Regions from separate parts of the Homo sapiens genome. Here region 1 is linked to region 2. The links are contacts of gene promoters, found by promoter capture Hi-C in blood cells and fetal thymus (Javierre and others, 2016). All regions are on one chromosome and are shown on one strand. Each heading gives the region's core, a stretch centred on a gene start or on the middle of the fragment in contact. The rest is flanking DNA. Distances are from core to core; before and after follow the strand shown. Region 1 overlaps AASDHPPT (aminoadipate-semialdehyde dehydrogenase-phosphopantetheinyl transferase). Region 2 holds the start of TMEM123 (transmembrane protein 123).

The links. The method cuts DNA at HindIII sites, captures the fragments that hold promoters and counts their contacts. A CHiCAGO score of 5 or more calls a contact.
Region 1: a fragment that was not itself captured here is called in contact with the fragment with the promoter of TMEM123 in region 2 in 1 of 17 cell types (monocytes); the score reaches 5.5 in monocytes.

What each region holds. Positions count from the first base shown.
Region 1 is chr11:106,078,408-106,083,509 of GRCh38, reverse strand. It overlaps AASDHPPT (aminoadipate-semialdehyde dehydrogenase-phosphopantetheinyl transferase), which reads right to left. Exons shown (of 6, transcript NM_015423.3): 2 at 3,818-4,043. Among named protein-coding and RNA genes, the nearest start is that of AASDHPPT, 3.3 kb to the right of the region's middle. The HindIII fragment of the contact is 1,784 bases long and covers 2,609-4,392 here.
Region 2 is chr11:102,449,662-102,454,860 of GRCh38, reverse strand. TMEM123 (transmembrane protein 123) reads left to right here and starts at 2,096. Exons shown (of 5, transcript NM_052932.3): 1 at 2,096-2,337. The coding sequence starts at 2,238. It overlaps TMEM123-DT (TMEM123 divergent transcript), which reads right to left and starts at 1,942. Exons shown (of 2, transcript NR_135053.1): 1 at 1,812-1,942. RefSeq lists enhancers at 1,733-1,842, 2,573-2,862, 3,043-3,092 and a silencer at 1,963-2,252. The HindIII fragment of the contact is 13,483 bases long and covers 1-5,199 here.

The DNA.
Region 1 (5,102 bases), core at 2,251-4,750, 3.6 Mb before region 2:
TAACAACTTTAAATGTATGTAACCCAGTTTCACAGAATTTTTCATATTTTGGTATCTGCAAATTCTTTTAATAGGAATCAATAAAATCTCATACTGAGAGGCCATATACTGTAGAGAGCAGTGGTTAAATATATGAAGTTTTACTTTTTAGCTAAGTCAACTTGGACAAATGTCTTAACCTTTTATATAAAATAACAGTAGTACTTACGCACTAGTCTTACAAAGATGAAATAATACCTATTAGGCATCTAATATAGTGTCACACACTTGTAGGAATTGCTCAATAAATACTAGTTACACAATCAAATCCTACTGACAAAGGAAAAAGACCGACCTGTAACTGGGAAGGAGGAAAACTCCTTGAGGGTGGAGACTTGGTTTTCCAGTAAGGAATTCAGAGTACAAAGTGATGTGTGAGTTTCTAAAACTACTTACAGGTTTTAAATCCCAAGTGCATTTAAAAAAAAAAGTCCAGCAAAGTTTATTTTAAAAATGTAAAGACGAACATGTAAAACCATAGGGGGAAAATTCTGGTCCTTTCCCAAATTTCAATCATAATTTTTATGTATTTTGTCTATTTTATTTTGCCTTACTTTGTAAATATGGTCACAAAACTAAACAATTCAAAAGTTACCCTTTATGCTTATCACTTCAAACACTTTTAATGGTAGAAAAAATTAGAAAACAAAGGGAAAACCAACCAAAATTTTCCAAAAGAGGGTAATAAATTAAGATGAAGACCAGGAAAACACCATTCTTCCTAAGAGTAAGAATGTACCGTCCTGGCATATGGTAGGCTATATACTAGGTATGTTCTCTCCTGCACGTCCACAGCAACAGTTGGGAGAACAGGTAGAGGGAGGGAAATGAGCTGCACTCAGCAGAAATGGTTAATGCACCATGAAAGAAAAAGACTCTCTGAGTTCCTAGTGGATTCTTACCTATAGGACAAGACAGAGTAATGGAATTGACTCTTTCAATGCACTAATGATAACCCCCAAAAGCCAACTCTGTCTTTAGAGTTGGCAATCTAGTAACAATGCCTAGTACAAAACAGAGTACTTTCCTTGCTGCTCTCCTAAGTTTTGCCTAGCATCATTTAGCAAGACTCTTAGGAAAAATCCCTTGCTCAATCTCCTCACTTACTACAATAAGTAGAGCAATTCAAAGAATCTCCAATGAAGCAAATCAGTGTCTACTTCCCATCTTCATTAAGAAATCATGCTGTGTCCATTGATGCTTCAGGAATCAGTAGCATGGTAACAACACTAGTGACAATTGGAAAATCTCTCTTCCTTTCTGTGTTACTGGACATAGCAACAGCTTTTTCACAACAAAATAAAGAAAAGGAAAAGGCCTAGACATTGTGATTAGTCAAGTAAGATCAACTAAAAAAAACTGGTGGGGGGAGGTCTAATAACACAATTAACAGGAAAACTAAATCTTAAATTTTTGCTCAATTGTCTTTCCATCATTTATTTTTCTTTTTTATTATTATTATTATTATACTTTAAGTTCTAGGGTACATGTGCACAATGTGCAGGTTAGTTACATATGTATACATGTGCCATGCTGGTGTGCTGCACCCATTAACTCATCATTTAGCATTAGGTGTATCTCCTAATGCTATCCCTCCCCCCTTCCCCCACCCACAACAGTCCCCAGAGTGTGATGTTCCCCTTCCTGTGTCCATGTGTTCTCATTGTTCAATTCCCATCTATGAGTGAGAACACCATCATTTATTAAAAGCTTCAGTTATTAATTACTTGTTTATCTAGCATTGACCATAGCCAACACTGCCCATCAAGTTAACTGGTAACAAAATCTGTTTCTCAGAAGTATCATTTCCAAGCAGATACCAACCCACTGGGCCAATTATTACCAGGTAGTTGTGCTGACTGCATTCTAAAAAACAATGGCCTTTCCATTTCTGATTTTAGAAAAAGTTCCTGTAATGACAGCAGAAAGCTACAAGAATATATGGGCTAATTCCCATGCTAAGAATCCTCTATAGCAGCAATTTTTTTAGAGTAAGCCACCTATGTCCCTGTTGAATACCAGATCCTTTCCCAAGAAAAATGCACATGTGCATATCATACAAAATGTAGCATACAGTTTCAGGAGGTAAACAAAATTCCTGGAATCTTATCCAGGGAATCAGATCAACAATCTGTTATAAGGTTTCCAAAATCACTAGTAGGGCCTTGTTCTGAACAAACCTGAGAATAGAGTTGTACTGGAAAGGTTTATTAGCAGGTAAGAGAAAGAGTAGCTAGTAGGAAAATGCAAGGTAAGGACAATAAAAGCAAAAGGGAGAAGAGATTCACAACCACACTGAAGCCTATACTCTAACAGCACAGTGTTTATTCATTCATTTGACAAATATTTTACTATTACATGCTAGGCAAGGTACTAAGAGATGTGATAGTGATCAAACTCTGATGTGGCTAACATGGTTCTTGCTCTCACACAGCTTTTAAGTATCAGGAAAAGATAATCAATCATCCTGATGAATAATCAACTGAGATACATTACTGGAATAAGGAAAATATATTTTATGAGAACCTACAACAAAAGAACCTAGCTTAGATTGAAGGCTCACAAAGCTTCCCTAAAGTAAGGTTAAGGTGAAATCTAACAAGTAAATAGGAGTTCTCTATGCAGAAATGGGAGTGAGAGATAAAATTAATACAAGCCTTACAGACTGAGAGAGCCACATATTCAAACCACATATGGTGCAGGCAGTATGGAGATTAGATAGTTTTACTATGAAATTAGGAAGATGTGGGTTCTTTTATTAATAGCTTTCTTCTTAGCCTGTTACTTATTTTCTTTAAAAATAGCAGTATATGCATCATAGGGTAGTTGAGAGAATTAAATCACAGAATATGTCTAAAGCACTATGTAAAATGCCATGACACGTGGTTAAGTGTTCATTAAATGTTAGTGATGATGACAAATATACAGCAGTTAAGAGAACCTGTATTTAGTATGTATTAAATTGCCTGGGTACATTCAACTTCACCACAAATGTTAGTGGTCCTTAAAGCCACCACTAACAAATTTCTAAGGCAATATATAAGCAACTTAAATATTTTAATAATGCTTGCTCCTCATTTTTACTTACATAAATGGGCTAAAAAGAGATGTATTTAGATGCAGAACAAAGAGTCGCCCGTTGGTATCCACTGGGGACTGGTTCCAGGACCCTCCTCAGATACCAAAATCTGCGCATGCGGCCCTATGGAACCTGCATATATGAAGTCAGCCCTCCACATCCTCAGGTTTCATATCCTGCAAATACTGAATCTTGATACACGTTTGATTGTGGATGCAGAATCTATGGGGACAGAGGGCCAACTACTGAAAAAAATTCACATGAGTAGACCCATGCAGTTCAAACTTGTGTTGTTCATGTGTCAACTGTATACGTTATCTCTACATAAGGACTACAATGTACTTTACTATTCAGATTCTTTTTTAAAAAACAAACAATTAACTGAAAAATTGTGGTTAATGTTTAAGTGAAATAAATTGAAGTATAATTCAAAAAAAATTTCACTTAATATTTCACTTTACCTCTAGGCAAAGTTATGGATCCCCAGTAACGGATAATCTATTATTTATGTGTAAGTCTGTAAATATTCATGGAAATATACCCTTTTCAGATTTATGCTCTCCATTACCTTTGTGTACTAAGCACATTTTCCCTAAACTGAAATATCTCTAATACATCTCCTGGCCTGAGATTACTCAATAGCAATAGAACTGAGGCATCGAGACACTTAACTGCCATACTAGAAAAATGCAACGTTACCTGGAAAACTAGTCTTCATTATATCAATTCCAACTTGCAGCTCAGGTTCAGCAGCAAGCACTGCATAGTCTCCTTGATGAGAGATGTTAAAGTTGAAATTCGGGTAAGGATTCGATGAGTCCTTTGCAAGAACTGGTTTTCCTTTTGCAGTTCTTTGCAAACGAATATGATTCCAAGGGATATTCAATTTCTCTGCAACTAATTTCCTTATCATCAGACGACCAGCCTGTTAAGTACATAAAACATTTGGTATGTACTGATGTCTACTAAAGATACAAGCACACTGTATGCAATAGTACTTTTTTTTGGTTTCTAAAATTTTCATTTTTAAAACTTTTCAAAATACTTAAGTATTAAACACACGTTAATTAAGACTTAAGCAATGCTTAAGTAGATAAAAAGTTAAAGCCCGCCTTAGCAATTCCCTCTCCTTTGCTAGTGACCAAAGTTAACAGCTGGCATCCTGTCAGTCTTTTCTGTATTTAAATATATGTGCATTTACATGTTTTTGCTAACTCTACATATAAACACAAACATGAGATTATACTTATGCAGTATTCTACCACATATAAGCTTTAAATTTATAAGTATTGGGAAGTATTTTATGTCTGTACACACACGTCTGGTCCATGCAGTTTTAACTGTAGCATATTTCATAATATTATTTCCCCTTTATTGGACATTTTAGGCTGGCTCTAGACTTGCTGTCAAAAACAACTCTGCAGTGAGCAACCCTACTGTACCTACATCTGTGCATATGTATTTCTAGATCCCATATATTGATCACCCAGCTTCAACAATTAGCAAGGCATGACCTATCTTGTTCTGCTCTCTCCCACCTCCAATTATTATTTTTTAAATAATTACTAAAAACACACACACAAAAAAACAAGAATATAAGATGACAAAGTATATATTTTTAAAAATATCTTTCAGGTTTTTTTCTTCTTCAATTCTAACACTGACTTTTAAAAACTGCAGGCTTTTAAATGTAGCTTATTTTACAATTCCTTACAAATGAGTAAAAAATTTTCACCAATGTGCCTTAAAAATTATCAACTAGTCTACATTTCAAACAGAAAGTGTTTCAATATGGGACATTTTTAAGAAAGGACTGTCTTTTAAATGATGGTAATTCACGGTTGTTTCAAATTGCACCATATTGTACAGATTACTTGTTTTGAAATCCAGTTTTCCATTTGTTGCTTCAAAATACATAGCTAAAATAAATAAATCTACGTAAAATACTGTTTCCCATGGCATCTAGTGAGGAAGGTATCCTCTC
Region 2 (5,199 bases), core at 847-3,346:
GGGAAGTTGACAGAGCAAGGCCTCAACAGATTTGGTGTCTGGTGAGGGCCCTCTGCCTCACAGATGGCGTCTTCCTGCTGTGCCCTCACAGTACAGAAGGGTGAAACAAGTTCCCTCAGGCCTCCTTTACAAGGGCACTAATCCCATTCATTAGCAACCAAATCACCTCCGGAAAGCCTCACATCTTTTTTTTTTTCTCTTGAGACAAGTCTCACTCTGTCTCCCAGGCTGGAGTGCAGTGGCGTGATCTCGGCTCACTGTAACCTCCACCTCCCAGGTTCAAGCGATTCCTGTGCCTCAGCCTCCCAGCTACTCGGGAGCCTCCCGAGTAGCTGGGATTATAGGCACGTCCCACCACGCCCAGATAATTGTATTTTTAGTAGAGGCGGGGTTTCACCATGTTGGTCAGGCTGGTCTTCAACTCCTGACCTCAAACGATCTACCCTTCTCAGCCTCCCAAAGTGCTGGGATTACAGGCATGAGCCACTATGCCCACCCAAGTCCCACATCTTATTATCATCACCTTGAGGATTAGGTTTCAACACATGAATGTGGTGGGGATATAAACATCCAGACCTCTTATTCCACCCCAGATTCCCAGGCTATAAGTACACTGAGCCTTAAAGGAAGTATTAGCTGTGGGTTGGTGAAGAGAATTCCAGAAGGAAAGAACAACGTATGCAAATGCCAGGAACCAGAAAGCACCCTTCTCCATGGGCAACAGAACCAAGGCTGGAAAGACAGGTTGGGCCTAGATTGGGAAATGCTTGGATAATGGGGTAGTCACCAGAACGGTTTATTCCTAAACCAGATTCCCCAGTTAAATAGAATAACCAAAATCGAAATGTGCAATGCTTGCTTTTTGTCCATGATAAGCTGCAGGGGAAACATTTGCAGGTTGGCTGACTGAATCCACAGATGGAAGTCTCTGTAAATTTAGGACAGATTGTCTCAGTTAATCTCTAGGACCAGTCAGACCTCTGTAATGATGGATTTGCCTGACATGAGAAAGTTCTACCTCTCATAACACAGTTTTCAAAAGTTAACTGCAATGTGGCCTTTATGTGATGAAATCTGGCTCAGGTGCCAAAGATCTGCAACATTAAGACCTTTGCAGGTGGGGATTCACTGTGATTTTAGGTTCCTTGGATCCTTCAGTCTTCTACTTCAGCTGAGGGTTCCCACCCAAGCCAGGACTCAGCCTTTGTTATTCTCATGCATTAGCCACAGGTAGCTATGTCACTTCAGAGTTCTGAGCACGATGAAAATGCAGACTTTACAAGCACTTCAAGTCAAGACAAGTGATTAGCATTGGCTCCAAGGGTTTAAAAGGAACTCAGCCAAAAACTGTTCAAAACTGGCCATTTCATCTGAACTGGGACAGCAGGGCACAAGGAGAGAAAAGGCTGGTTGGATTAATGCAGCCCCCGCTTTCCATGGCTCTACTGTATTTCACTGAGAGTTGCTACCAACTCCTGCGCGCGCCCCCACCCGCCCACTCCACTAATCTCGTGTCTTAATCAGAGATACAGGGAACCCGTGGAGAAGATGAAGTACAACTGGGATAAGAAGATCGTAGGTGTTTTACGTTTGAATTTAAGCAACAAATCTGTCGAGCTGTTTTTCTCCACTTCCCCCTTAGGCTGGGTCACGCGAGGGGAAAGCTCCGACCGCCCAGGACTCCTTAGAGTGAATCCCATCCCCTCAAGTTCCTCTCCAGAATCTCCCCCTCCTCCCGCCTTTGCCCTGCAACTCCTCCCTCTCACTCTGAGTCGCACGCACCCCTGTCCCCTCCCTGCCCGCAAAACTACTCTTCAAAGGCTTCCTTCCGGGCACCGCGAAGCCAGCGTGCTCAGCATTCAGGGAGGCAGCGGCGCTCGCCTTCATCCAGGACAACAAAACTGCCATTTCCGAAGAGAAAGGAAACGGCTCGCGGTTTCTGGGGTTCCCAAGCGCGCGCCTGCGAGGGAGGCCGCGAGCCGAGTCGCCACGCCCAGAACCCCGAGCCCGCCCCCGCGCCACCCAGCCCGGCCCCGCCGCCCCGGCTGCGCACGCGACGCCCCCTCCAGGCCCCGCTCCTGCGCCCTATTTGGTCATTCGGGGGGCAAGCGGCGGGAGGGGAAACGTGCGCGGCCGAAGGGGAAGCGGAGCCGGCGCCGGCTGCGCAGAGGAGCCGCTCTCGCCGCCGCCACCTCGGCTGGGAGCCCACGAGGCTGCCGCATCCTGCCCTCGGAACAATGGGACTCGGCGCGCGAGGTGCTTGGGCCGCGCTGCTCCTGGGGACGCTGCAGGTGCTAGCGCTGCTGGGGGCCGCCCATGAAAGCGCAGCCATGGCGGGTAAGTGGCTGCGGGGGTCGTCAGCCCCGTTCGTGGGAGGCAGCGCGCTGCCGAGGCTTGGGTTCCCAAGTTGGGCTCTGGTACAGAAAGTTCCGCGTGTGTCTGGCCGAACGCTCGGGGCGGACCCAGAGGTGACCGGGCGGGGTGGGGGAAACTGAGGTTTGGACCAGTCACCCGCTGGCCCCGGGGCCGCCTGCTGAGGAAATTGCCTGGTGCTTCCCCTCTCGCTTTTTGGATGCGGCGGTCGCAGGCCGGGACGGGTGCGCATAACCTGTTGAGTTACCGCAAGTTGGTTTTTACAGCCTTTCCCTGAAGTTAATGTTTGCCGAGGTTAGAGTTTCTAAGGCTTCCGTTTGTAAACAAGATTAGCTGAGTTGAAAAATATGTCTACCTAGGCCCGCGGAAACGTCTCCCAGTTAGTCGGGGAGCTTTTCAAGCGTCCCCCAGGCATTTCAGCGTCTAATATTATGCAGTATTATCCAGATGAATTACAATCTTTAGGTCCCCCTGACGCTCGAAGTTAGACTTCGGGGCTCTTGGAGCTAGTTGGGAGCTTTTGGGGAGCGCGCCCCGCCCTCGCGGTAGTTGAGGCGGCCGCCCCCATGGCGGGGCGCTCTCCACCCCTCGTGTGCCATAAACACCCGGCCGAGGCGCGCGGCAGCTGCGCAGCGTTAAGGGCACAGCTGCACGGTCGCCGGTGGCCCTTGTCGTCGCTAGTAAGGTCGTAACAGGATGATGTTGACTTTGCTTTTCTGTGTAGGGCGGAATTTGTTTCGTTTTAGGCCCTTGGCCCTTTGGAGACTTCAAACAGCCCTTTTTGGATGAAACCAGGAAGTTGGGATTTGTTGTGTAAATACTGTTTTCCTTTGTCAACTGTTAGAGAAGTCAGGTCCCTAGGTAATGGTCAGTAAACTAGGATAAGTTAAGTAACCCAAGGTTTTCATGGTTTTAAGTTCTATCCATCCACTGTATATGTTAGCCTTAGGTTCGTTTTATCCAGCAAAAGAAAAAGGCAGTTTGTAAATCTGGAAGGTTCAGGCACAACACTTGCTTTTTCTGGAATAACCTGGGTGAATTAACAATTTTTCTTTGTTTTGCTGAAGTTTTTTTGTTTGCTTAATTGTGCGTGTGACAAACTGGCTTCGCAGACCTAATTTTGAGATCATTTAAGAAAAAAAGTGGTAAAATCATGTCCATCGTGTATCTTGGTCCTAATTTTATACCAATTATCTCATGAGGTGAGGTCTCCATTTTTAAAAATTTGTTGCTGTGTTTGTGAAGATAAGCCTTACTGTTTCAATGAATTACCGATTAGAGAAACTGTGAGTGACCATGCTTTTCTTTCTTTTGCCCTGATAACACAGATTTTTTTTGCCCTATTTTAGCACTGTTTGTTCTGTTTATTACTTAATGTCTTACTAGAGGTTAGTCCCATTTGCAAAACTTGAAATGCTCTACAGTAGGCGAGCCCTGAATTCATAAACTAGTATAACCAACCAGAGGTGGAATCTGTTTCTACAGACTATATAATGTCACCTTGCAACTAGACTAAAAGGTATACAATAGAAGATTTCTCAAAAAAGCTAGTAACTGTTAATCGTAGTCTTCATGTATAGTGTAATCTGTATACAATGTCATTACGAAGTATAGTGATTTTTAGCCATCATACTAAAACTCTTAATGGCTGATTTTTACTGGGTACATATTCTGTGCATCCCACGCTATGCTAATTTAGGTCCATAAATCATCCCATTGAATCCTCACAGTATCGTCCCCATTTTATAGATAAGTAAGCTAATTTATGGCAAGTAAAACAATTAATACATGTTTGGTTTCAGATCAAAATCCAAATTTTCAATTAACCATTTCACCACTAAGCCGCGTTAGATGATGATGGCTCTTGAAGTAGATAATACTTTTATTCCACAGTATTACCATTGCCTAGAATATTGTGGGAGAAGATAAAAACATTATTGAAATTCTGCTTTTAAAATATTCTTCACAGTCAGCTGCATAGCTTTATAAATATCAGTTGAAGGAGGAGGGAGACTATGAGCAAGTTTGCAAATCAGCAAACAGGATTTATTGTAGTATTCCAATGAATGACATTAACATTAACAGGATGGGAGGGGCGGCTGTTAGTCATTACTCTTAGTGGCAAGTGACAGAAACCCACCTTGAACAACTGTGGAAAGAAGGGACTTTTTTGACTTGTAACTGAAAAGTGCAAGGATTGAGGTGGCTTGAAAATGGCTGTATTCAAGTGTTCAAATAAGTCGCCAAGAAATTAAGAAATCATCGCGTTAAGAGCGACAATAGCAGGGAAACAAAAACAGGCTGTTGTGTTAGCCCAGCCAAAAGATGATGGTGAGTGGCAATGGAGATAAAAGGGTGGATTCTAGATCTATGGGGGGTTGGGACTAATCACTTGCTGATGGATTGGAGGGTGGGATGAGGAAGAGAGAAGAATCAAAGGATGACCTCTTGGTTTTGGGGTTGAGCAGCTGGTAATGCAACAATTGGGAAGGTTGGGGGAGGAGCAGGTTTATAGTAGAAAATCAGTAGTTCCATTTTGGCACTCATATCTGCAGGCTTAGGAATCAAACTATCTGGTCCAATTCCAGTCTCTGCCACTTTGTATCTGGGCGGCCTTCTCTGGGCCTCAGTTCTTGTCTGCAAAACAATACTCCTAAGAATTGTTGAGAGGGTTAGATGAGCTAATGCACATAACCCTGGCTTGTGGTAAGCACCTAATAATGTTGGCAATTGTTTGCTATCTGCTGCTAAATACATCTACGTAGTCTGTTGACCTTGATCTTTTTCAAGTTAATCTTACACTGTATCCTTTTGTGATAAATAGAT